Regions from separate parts of the Homo sapiens genome. Here region 2 is linked to region 1. Evidence: promoter capture Hi-C in human tissues and cell types (Jung and others, 2019). All regions are on one chromosome and are shown on one strand. The core of a region is centred on a gene start or on the middle of the fragment in contact, and the rest is flanking DNA. Distances in the headings are between cores, read along the strand shown.

What was found. Contacts are between HindIII fragments. The study calls those that stand out against the background at their distance.
Region 2: a fragment that was not itself captured here is called in contact with the fragment with the promoter of ZNF346 in region 1 in 1 of the 25 tissues and cell types used here (dorsolateral prefrontal cortex).

The regions. Positions count from the first base shown.
Region 1 is chr5:177,021,018-177,024,873 of GRCh38, reverse strand. It overlaps ZNF346 (zinc finger protein 346), which reads right to left and starts at 2,178. Exons shown (of 7, transcript NM_012279.4): 1 at 1,961-2,178. The coding sequence starts at 2,135. It also overlaps a transcript of UIMC1 not described here. RefSeq lists enhancers at 1,400-1,936, 2,364-2,413, 1,937-2,474 and a silencer at 1,814-1,963. The HindIII fragment of the contact is 9,260 bases long and covers 1-3,856 here.
Region 2 is chr5:177,235,848-177,239,703 of GRCh38, reverse strand. It overlaps NSD1 (nuclear receptor binding SET domain protein 1), which reads right to left. Exons shown (of 23, transcript NM_022455.5): 6 at 3,759-3,856; 7 at 1,197-1,467. Among named protein-coding and RNA genes, the nearest start is that of RAB24, 66 kb to the left of the region's middle. The HindIII fragment of the contact is 9,664 bases long and covers 1-3,856 here.

The DNA of each region.
Region 1 (3,856 bases), core at 929-3,428:
GAACAGGGAAATGAAATGGGTCATAACAGTGCCACTATACACTCATATACACATAGCAGACAGTTCACTTTTCAGAGCACAGTGGTTTTCTGCTTCAAGATCCAGGGCAAAGGTCACTTTCTTCTTGTGCACCTCCAACTCTTAAAACATTCCTCAGCACTGCATCCTTTACATTACACTGGAACTGTTTTGGTGTCTGCTTCCTGGACTAGACTGCAAGCCTTTCCAGGGCAAGGGCAGTATCTTCCTCTGATACTCCAGCTCTGAAGCTCAACCAGTTCCGGGTCCAGAGCAGGCATCAGTGAGTGTTTGTCAAGTTAATGAAAGGAAAATTGGGGTAGGGGAGGAAACTACCAAACAAGTGTGAAAGTAGGAGAGCCGGGTGCGGTGGCTCATGCCTGTAATCCCAGCACTTTGGGAGGTCAAGGCGGGCAGATCACTTGAGGTCAGGAGTTCGAGAACAGCCTGGCCAACATGGTGAAACCCCATCTCTACTAAAAATACAAAAATCAGCTGAGCGTCATGGCAGCAGCCTGTAATCCCAGCTACTCCGGAGGCTGAGGCAGTATAGAATTGCTTGAACCCAGGAGGCGGAGGTTGCAGTGTGATTGTGCCACTGCACTCCAACCTGGGTGACAGAGTGAGACTCTCTCAAAAAAAAAAAAAAAAAAAAGGAGAGAGGGCCCCAGAAATAGTGTGTGTGTGTGTGTGTGTGTATACATAAAATACTTACAAGTGTATATAAAAATATATATACAGATTTATGTGTGTATATATTATATATATACATTTATGTGTGTGTATATTATATATACGCATACACACACACCATTTCTGGGGCCCTGTCTCCTTCTTTTTTATATATAATATACATTATATATATATATAAACTTAGGAGACAGGCTAGACTTGTTTTTAAATTGGAGAAGTATATACCAGGGTATAGGTCTGTGTACCTTCCTTAGATATGGTCAAAATTTCAATTTTATCCAATTTTATCCAGGGCAGTCAGTTCACAAATAGCATATTAAACTTTCGAAGACAAGTCTGCTCAGCAAGCAAACAAATCACTGGAGAAATCTGATTTCCCTCCAGATACCTGACAAGGTTAGCAGAGAAGCCCAGATAGAGTTCTTGTACATCTGGGTTAGCATCAAGCAGCTGGCTCTGTAAAGGACAGTGAAGGGAGTCACACAAGCAGGTCAGGACAGCTCTTTTCCATCCTTCTCTTTCTTTCATCCCATCTTACCCAGTCTCAGGTCAAGTGCAGAGCAAGCTGGGGCGCTTCGGCCCAGGAGTGACCCCTAACGTGGCTTTGCATACACTGTTCTCAGCAACTTTGGGTCAAGTGTAGGACACAAAGAAGCTGGAGCCAAAGCAAACCCAGACCAGTTTCTCAGGCTCCTTGTCCCCACCTTAGAATAAGGGACCCAGCAAGTAGAGGCCAGAGAGCTAAAAACGGGTAAGCCAGGGCTCAGTCATCAAGACCAGGAGGAACCCAGGGGGTAAGGAGAAGGCCTTCCAGAGCCCTCGGAAGTGTGGGGCTTGAGAGAAGGGAGGCGAGAGGCCCTAGGAGGAAATCTGGAGATTGGGACGATGGGGAGTCAAGGAGTGGTGAGGGGCACTCGGCTTGGCTTACCGGGATGGCAAAGACTGTAGGTCTCCGACAGGACGAGTATAGGGATGACAGTCCTCGAATGTGGGAAAAACTGCGCTGTAGTGAATGATGAAGGAGGAGGAGGAAAACCCAGGGCCTGAGCGTGAGCGGCCCTTCACCCTCAGCGCGCTGGGGGCCCGATTCTTGGGGTGCCCGCGCCCGGATGGGGAGCACAAGTCTGGGGGTCCCGGGGCGCAGCACGCAAGGAGGCGGGCCAGGGGGTGTGACCGTCGGCGCTTCCGCAGTTCCCCGCGAGCCGCGCAGCGGGCGAGGGGCTTTCTGCCTCCAAAGCCCCCGACTCACCTTCCTCTCTACCCACCGGCTGGGCACCGGACACGGCTTCCCACAGGCGGCGCGCCCTCTCGCGGTCAAAGCGCACCCCGTCCGGCTCCTGGCCCTCCAGCAACTCCGAGCTGCTGTAAGGCCCGGCCGCTCCGCCGTCCGCGGCCTGCACCGTGGCCGGCGCGGGATACTCCATCTTCCCCGCAAACCCTCACCGGTAGAGAGCCTCTCAGGCGCCTAGGTATCGCGAGATTTGGTGGGTGGTACTTGGCCCAGCCAACAAATCTCGCGAGGTTTGGGCGCTGCACCCGCGCTGCCGTGCGGGACCCCGCGCTTATTTTGCTTTGCTACCTCTGGTACCTCAGAGCGTGTGCCGTGGATTCGGAAACCTGTCGCTGATTCCGCAGCAGTGACCCCCCCCTCCCGGAGAGGCTCGTGTGGTTTTGGCTCATGGCTCTCACCTTGCTCACGGTCAGCCCTTGATACTTTTCATTTCGTTCTCAAGGTCCCGTTATGTGGGAGTGTTTTCGCCATTTCATTCACAGGGAAACTGAGGCCCAGAACCTAAAAATGGTTAACTCAAGAGCTCGCTACTAGTAAGTAGTAGTACAGCTAAGGTTCCATATTACTGCTAATAATACATACTATTTGTTGAGTTCCAAGTGCCAGCTCCCAGCTCTGATCTTCCCCGAGACTCCGGACCTGTATACATCCAGTTGCCTCTTCCACAGTTCACTCGAATGGCTAATAGGCTTCTCCAATGTAGCTGTCAGACCCCAAATTTTATCTTCCAACCCCAGAGCTGCTCCTTCCCGTGTCTTTGGGAGCCACCATCTCTTGCCTAGGTTATTGTAGTAGCAACCTCACTGGCATTCCCAGCACAGCAGTTCCAGGAATCCTCTTATGACAAGTCAGATCATGACGCTTAGGTTCTCAAATCCTCCAACAGCTTCCCATCTCACTCTTAGTAAAAGCCAAAGTCCGGCCAGGCGCGGTGGCTCACGCCTGTAATCCCAGCACTTTGGGAGGCTAAGGGGGGGCGGATCACCTGAGGTCCGGAGTTCGAGACCAGCCTGACCAACATGGAGAAACCCCGTCTCTACTAAAAATACAAAATTAGACGGGTGTGGTGGCACATGCCTGTAATCCCATCTACTCGGAGGCTGAGCCAGGAGAATGGCTTGAACCCGGGAGGCAGAGGTTGCTGTGAGCCGAGCTGGCGCCATTGCACCCCAGCCTGGGCAACAAGAGCGAAACTCCGACTAAAAAAAAAAAAAGCCAAAGTCCTTACTTCGACCAACAAGGCCCTGTACAATCTGACTTCCCTTAACCTCCCTGATCCTGATGTGTTACTCAGTCCCCAACTCCTTAATTCCTGTCCCAGTTATCCAGGCCTCCTGGGGTGAATTTCTCTCATATATCTTCATGGCTCAGTCTCCCACTTCCTTCTCTGGCTACTCTATCTAAAATACCTTGTCTGGCTATCCCATCTAAAATGTTACTTTTCCACACACACTTCATGTCCTTCTTTCCTGCTTTATTTCTTTTATATTTTACCTTTTATCTTGCTTATTGTCTGTCTCCCGACTAGAAGGCAAGCCCCAGGAAGGCAGGGATTTTTGTCTCTTTTCTTTTCTTTCTTTTTTTAAATTGTTTTTGAGGCAGAGTTTTGCTCTGTCGCCAGGTTGGAGTGCAGTGACGCGATCTCGGCTCACTGCAGCTTCCGTCTCCCGGGTTCAAGCAATTCTCCAGCCTCAGCCTCCTGAGTAGCTGGGATTACAGGCACATGCCACGGCACCCAGCTAATTTTTATATTTTTGGTAGAGACGGGGTTTCACTATGTTAGCTAGGCTGATCTCAAACTCCTGATCTCATAATCTGCCTGCCTCGGGCTCCCAAAATGCTGAGATTACAGGC
Region 2 (3,856 bases), core at 1-2,500, 220 kb before region 1:
ATTTTTAAAAAATCTGTATACCACACAAAATGAATCTCAATGTTTTTGATGTTTTCCCCGTCATCTTATGGGAAGAGGCAGGATGGTAATTTGCTTATTATAAAATATTAGTAAACAAAACAAGTAAACAGTTTTCAATGCAAGCACCAACTAATGTGAGGGATGTGTGTGTGGTGACTTTAACTCACAAAATCACTAAGGGAGAAGTCAGAAGGACGGAACTGCCTTTATAACAACTGATTGTTGGTGAGGATAAAATAAGGAGAAGTGGAGTGAAATAGAACTTGGATCATGGTCATAAATGGACAAAGATTATAGTTTCTGCTCTGCCCCTAAGTAAATAAAATTCAATAGGTAAAAGATAATTCATAGGATCACTCAAGAATAATATAAAAGAGCTGACTTAATAGAGTTTTGGCACATAGTAGGTACTGAAATAATAACTATCTTTACTGTTCTTTCAAAAATCTTTTTTATTATACCCAACTAGTTTAAGCACAATTGGAATCGTTTCTTTAAGGAATAACATCAAAAGCTACTGTTGATAATGTAAAAAAGTTATATCCAAAATTTAAAGGGGTACAGAAAAGAGGATTCTTGCCATTCCTTGACTGACTATAATATTCAATAGTTACAAGGTGAATTAGAGACAATATGTTTAGATCCAACTCTCCCCAGGTGATATATAAAGAATGATCAAGTGAGAAGTAACTGGTAATTAACTTCTAATGAACTGGTAATTACTATGTTGTCAGGTATATAACATTACACATTAATACATTATGATCTCCATTTATAGATGAGGAAACAAGTTCAGAGATTAAACAACTTCCCAAGTAACACAAGGATTGGTGGAGCCAGCACTTGAAGCATAGTGCTTATTCCACTAATGTGCAGTACTCCTCTTGAAGCCCTGTTATCCTGGTTGTTAATTTACACAGTGGCTGATCAACAATCATGAAGAGCAACACTGGAGCAAGGAGCATAGTTATTAAAAATACATCTTCTTGATAGTGTGCCACAGTTCATGGTTAGTAACTATATCTAATTAACCATCATTTTAAGTATTTCCCAGGACAAAAGGGGGTAGTTTATTGTATATAGATACAATGTTGGCTTTACATCAAAACATACTAAAATCTCCTGCTTCCTCTAATCATATCTGCTCAAATACTGAGACCCCAACCCCACCTTACCTGGCGTTTTAACTAGCAATTCCTCAGACTCAAGGGCAGGCCGTGGAGAGACTTCCGGAGCCACAGGCACAGACAAGGTCAGCTGCGGCAACTCAGCATGTCCACCTCCAAGTTCTGACTGAGCCAAGGGGCCCTCCAAAAACGGAGCCTCCCTTTCAAGAACTGGAGGCTCTTCTTTGGTTGAAATCAAAGAATTCTCGTCCACCTGCTTGTTCTGAGCACTAGATCGACCTCGGGCTAGAAGGCTTTCCTCTTCACAGCGGGAACTTACCTAAGAACAAAAAATAAAAATAGAGTCCACAGGCCAAAATTGTTGTAATTTAAGTGTCAAAAAGAATAACACACTTTAAAAGGAATGAAATTCTGACAAAGGCTACAAAAAGTGGATGAACCTTGAAGACATTATGTATGCTAAGGGAAATTACTTAAGACACAAAGAACAAATATCGTATGATTTCAAGTATATGAGGTATCTAGAATAAGAAAATTCTTGAGACAGAAAATAGAATGGCAATTGCCAGGGGCTGAGCAGAAAAGGGAGTTATTGGTTAATGGGTATTGATTTTTAATTTGGAAAGATGAAAAAAATTATCGAGATGGATGGTGGAGATGGTTGCACAACAATCTAACTGTGCTTCATGCTACTGAACTGTACACTTAAAAATGGATAAAATAGGCTGGGCGTGGTGGCTCACGCCTGTAATTCCAGAACTTTGGGAGGCCAAGGCAGGCAGATCACGAGGTCAGGAGATCAAGACCATCCTGGCTACCATGGTGAAACCCTGTCTCTACCTAAAAATGCAAAAAATTAGCCAGGTGTGGTGGCGGGCACCTGTAGTCCCAGCTACTCGGGAGGCTGAGGCAGGAGAATGGTGTGAACAGGAGAGGCAGAGCTTGCAGTGAGCTGAGATCACACCACTGCACTCCAGCCTGGGCAACAGAGTGAGACTCCATCTCAAAAAAAAAAAAAAAAAAAGATAAAATAATAAAATTTACATTATATATATATATTTTTTTAACCAAAATTAAATGAAGTTGACTGAGATACACTGAAGCTATAATATTGATAAGTCCACAACAATAATTCAAAAGCAGGGGAAAGAGACTGCTCTAATGTCTCCAATTAAAACAACTACTAATGAACTCCTTAATGTTACAATTGGTAATTAATGGGAAAGAAAGAAGCACTTATTCTGCCTTTCAAGTATTTCAGGACAATAACAGAGTCCAATTAATGAAAGAGACTATCAGTTAATAAAAATAGAGAAAATAATAAAATCTGAAAGTCTTCATTTTGTAACCTCTAATAAAATTATTGATATAGGTAAAGATCTTCAACTGGGGTTTTCAAAAAACCATCAGGGAAGCTGGGCATGGTGGCCCACACCTGTAATCCCAACACTCTGGGAGGCTGAGGCAGAAAGATCACTGGAGCCCAGGAATTCGAGACCAGCCAGGGCAACATAGTGGGACACCGCCTCTACAAAAAAAATGTTGTCAAAAATTAGCCAGGTGTGGTAGTGTGCACCTTTGGTCCCAACTACTCAGGAGGCTGAGACGGAAACATTGCTTAAACCCAGGAGGTCAAGGCTGCAGTGAACCGTGTTCGTGCATCTCTGCACTCCAGCTTGGGCAAGACACTGTCTCAATTTTAAAAAAGAAAGAACAAACTGTCAGGGAATGGCTGATGGGAATAAAACATTTTTTAACCCTCTAATGTACAATATATTCCACATTATCATCTCTGATATAGTCTAGCTAAAAATGTTCAACTTTCAATCTATCAAACTGATAGGTTCTATCTTCCATTTGACAGAGAACAGGAGATAGAGAAAACAATCTAAGTGACACCTATGAGGAAGCAATTACACAAATACAGAAAGTAGATGACTTTATATGTCACTCTCTTATAGACATGATCATGATCATGAAAAAAGGGATTGTTCTGAATTCAAAGTGATTTGAGAACCATAACAACCAGTTACAATGAGCAGTCCTAGATTGAGTCCTGGTATGAATAATCCAAAGGTAAAGGTTAGGGGATAATTGATGAAATTTGAAAGACAGTTGATGTCAGATAAACAGATCTTATATAAGATGTAAATATGTTAAATTGATTATAAAGGAAAATGTTCCATTTTTTAACTACATATTAAACTATGTAGGGGTAGAATGTCAAGATGTCTCTATTTCATTTTAAAAAACTGAGTTGAAAAATAAGACAAATAAGATATATTTACTTTTGAAATTAGGGTCAGACTATATATATTTCACTTTATAGCCTATATTTTTACTTAAGATTAAATCATAACAATATTCCTAAGTCATTACTCTTTGAAGGCAAAGAGGGAAAAATATATACATAAATAAATACAATATGTAGATTCATTTATATATTTCCTGAATAACCACTAAATCCTAAGTACTGTGCTAGAAGCTGAGAATAAAAAACAAGATCTCAGTTAAGGAAATTATTGTTTCATGAAGATAAAGTATGACATTGAAGATAAAATTGCAGTTTCCTAAGGACCAGTGAAAGTTTGCTGAAATTTTGCAACATACCTTGTGCACCTGCTCCTGTACCTTCTTTTGTTTTTTCTTAGGAGCAAATATCTGATCATATTCTTCTGTATATTCCAAAAGCCACTTGCTTGGCTTCC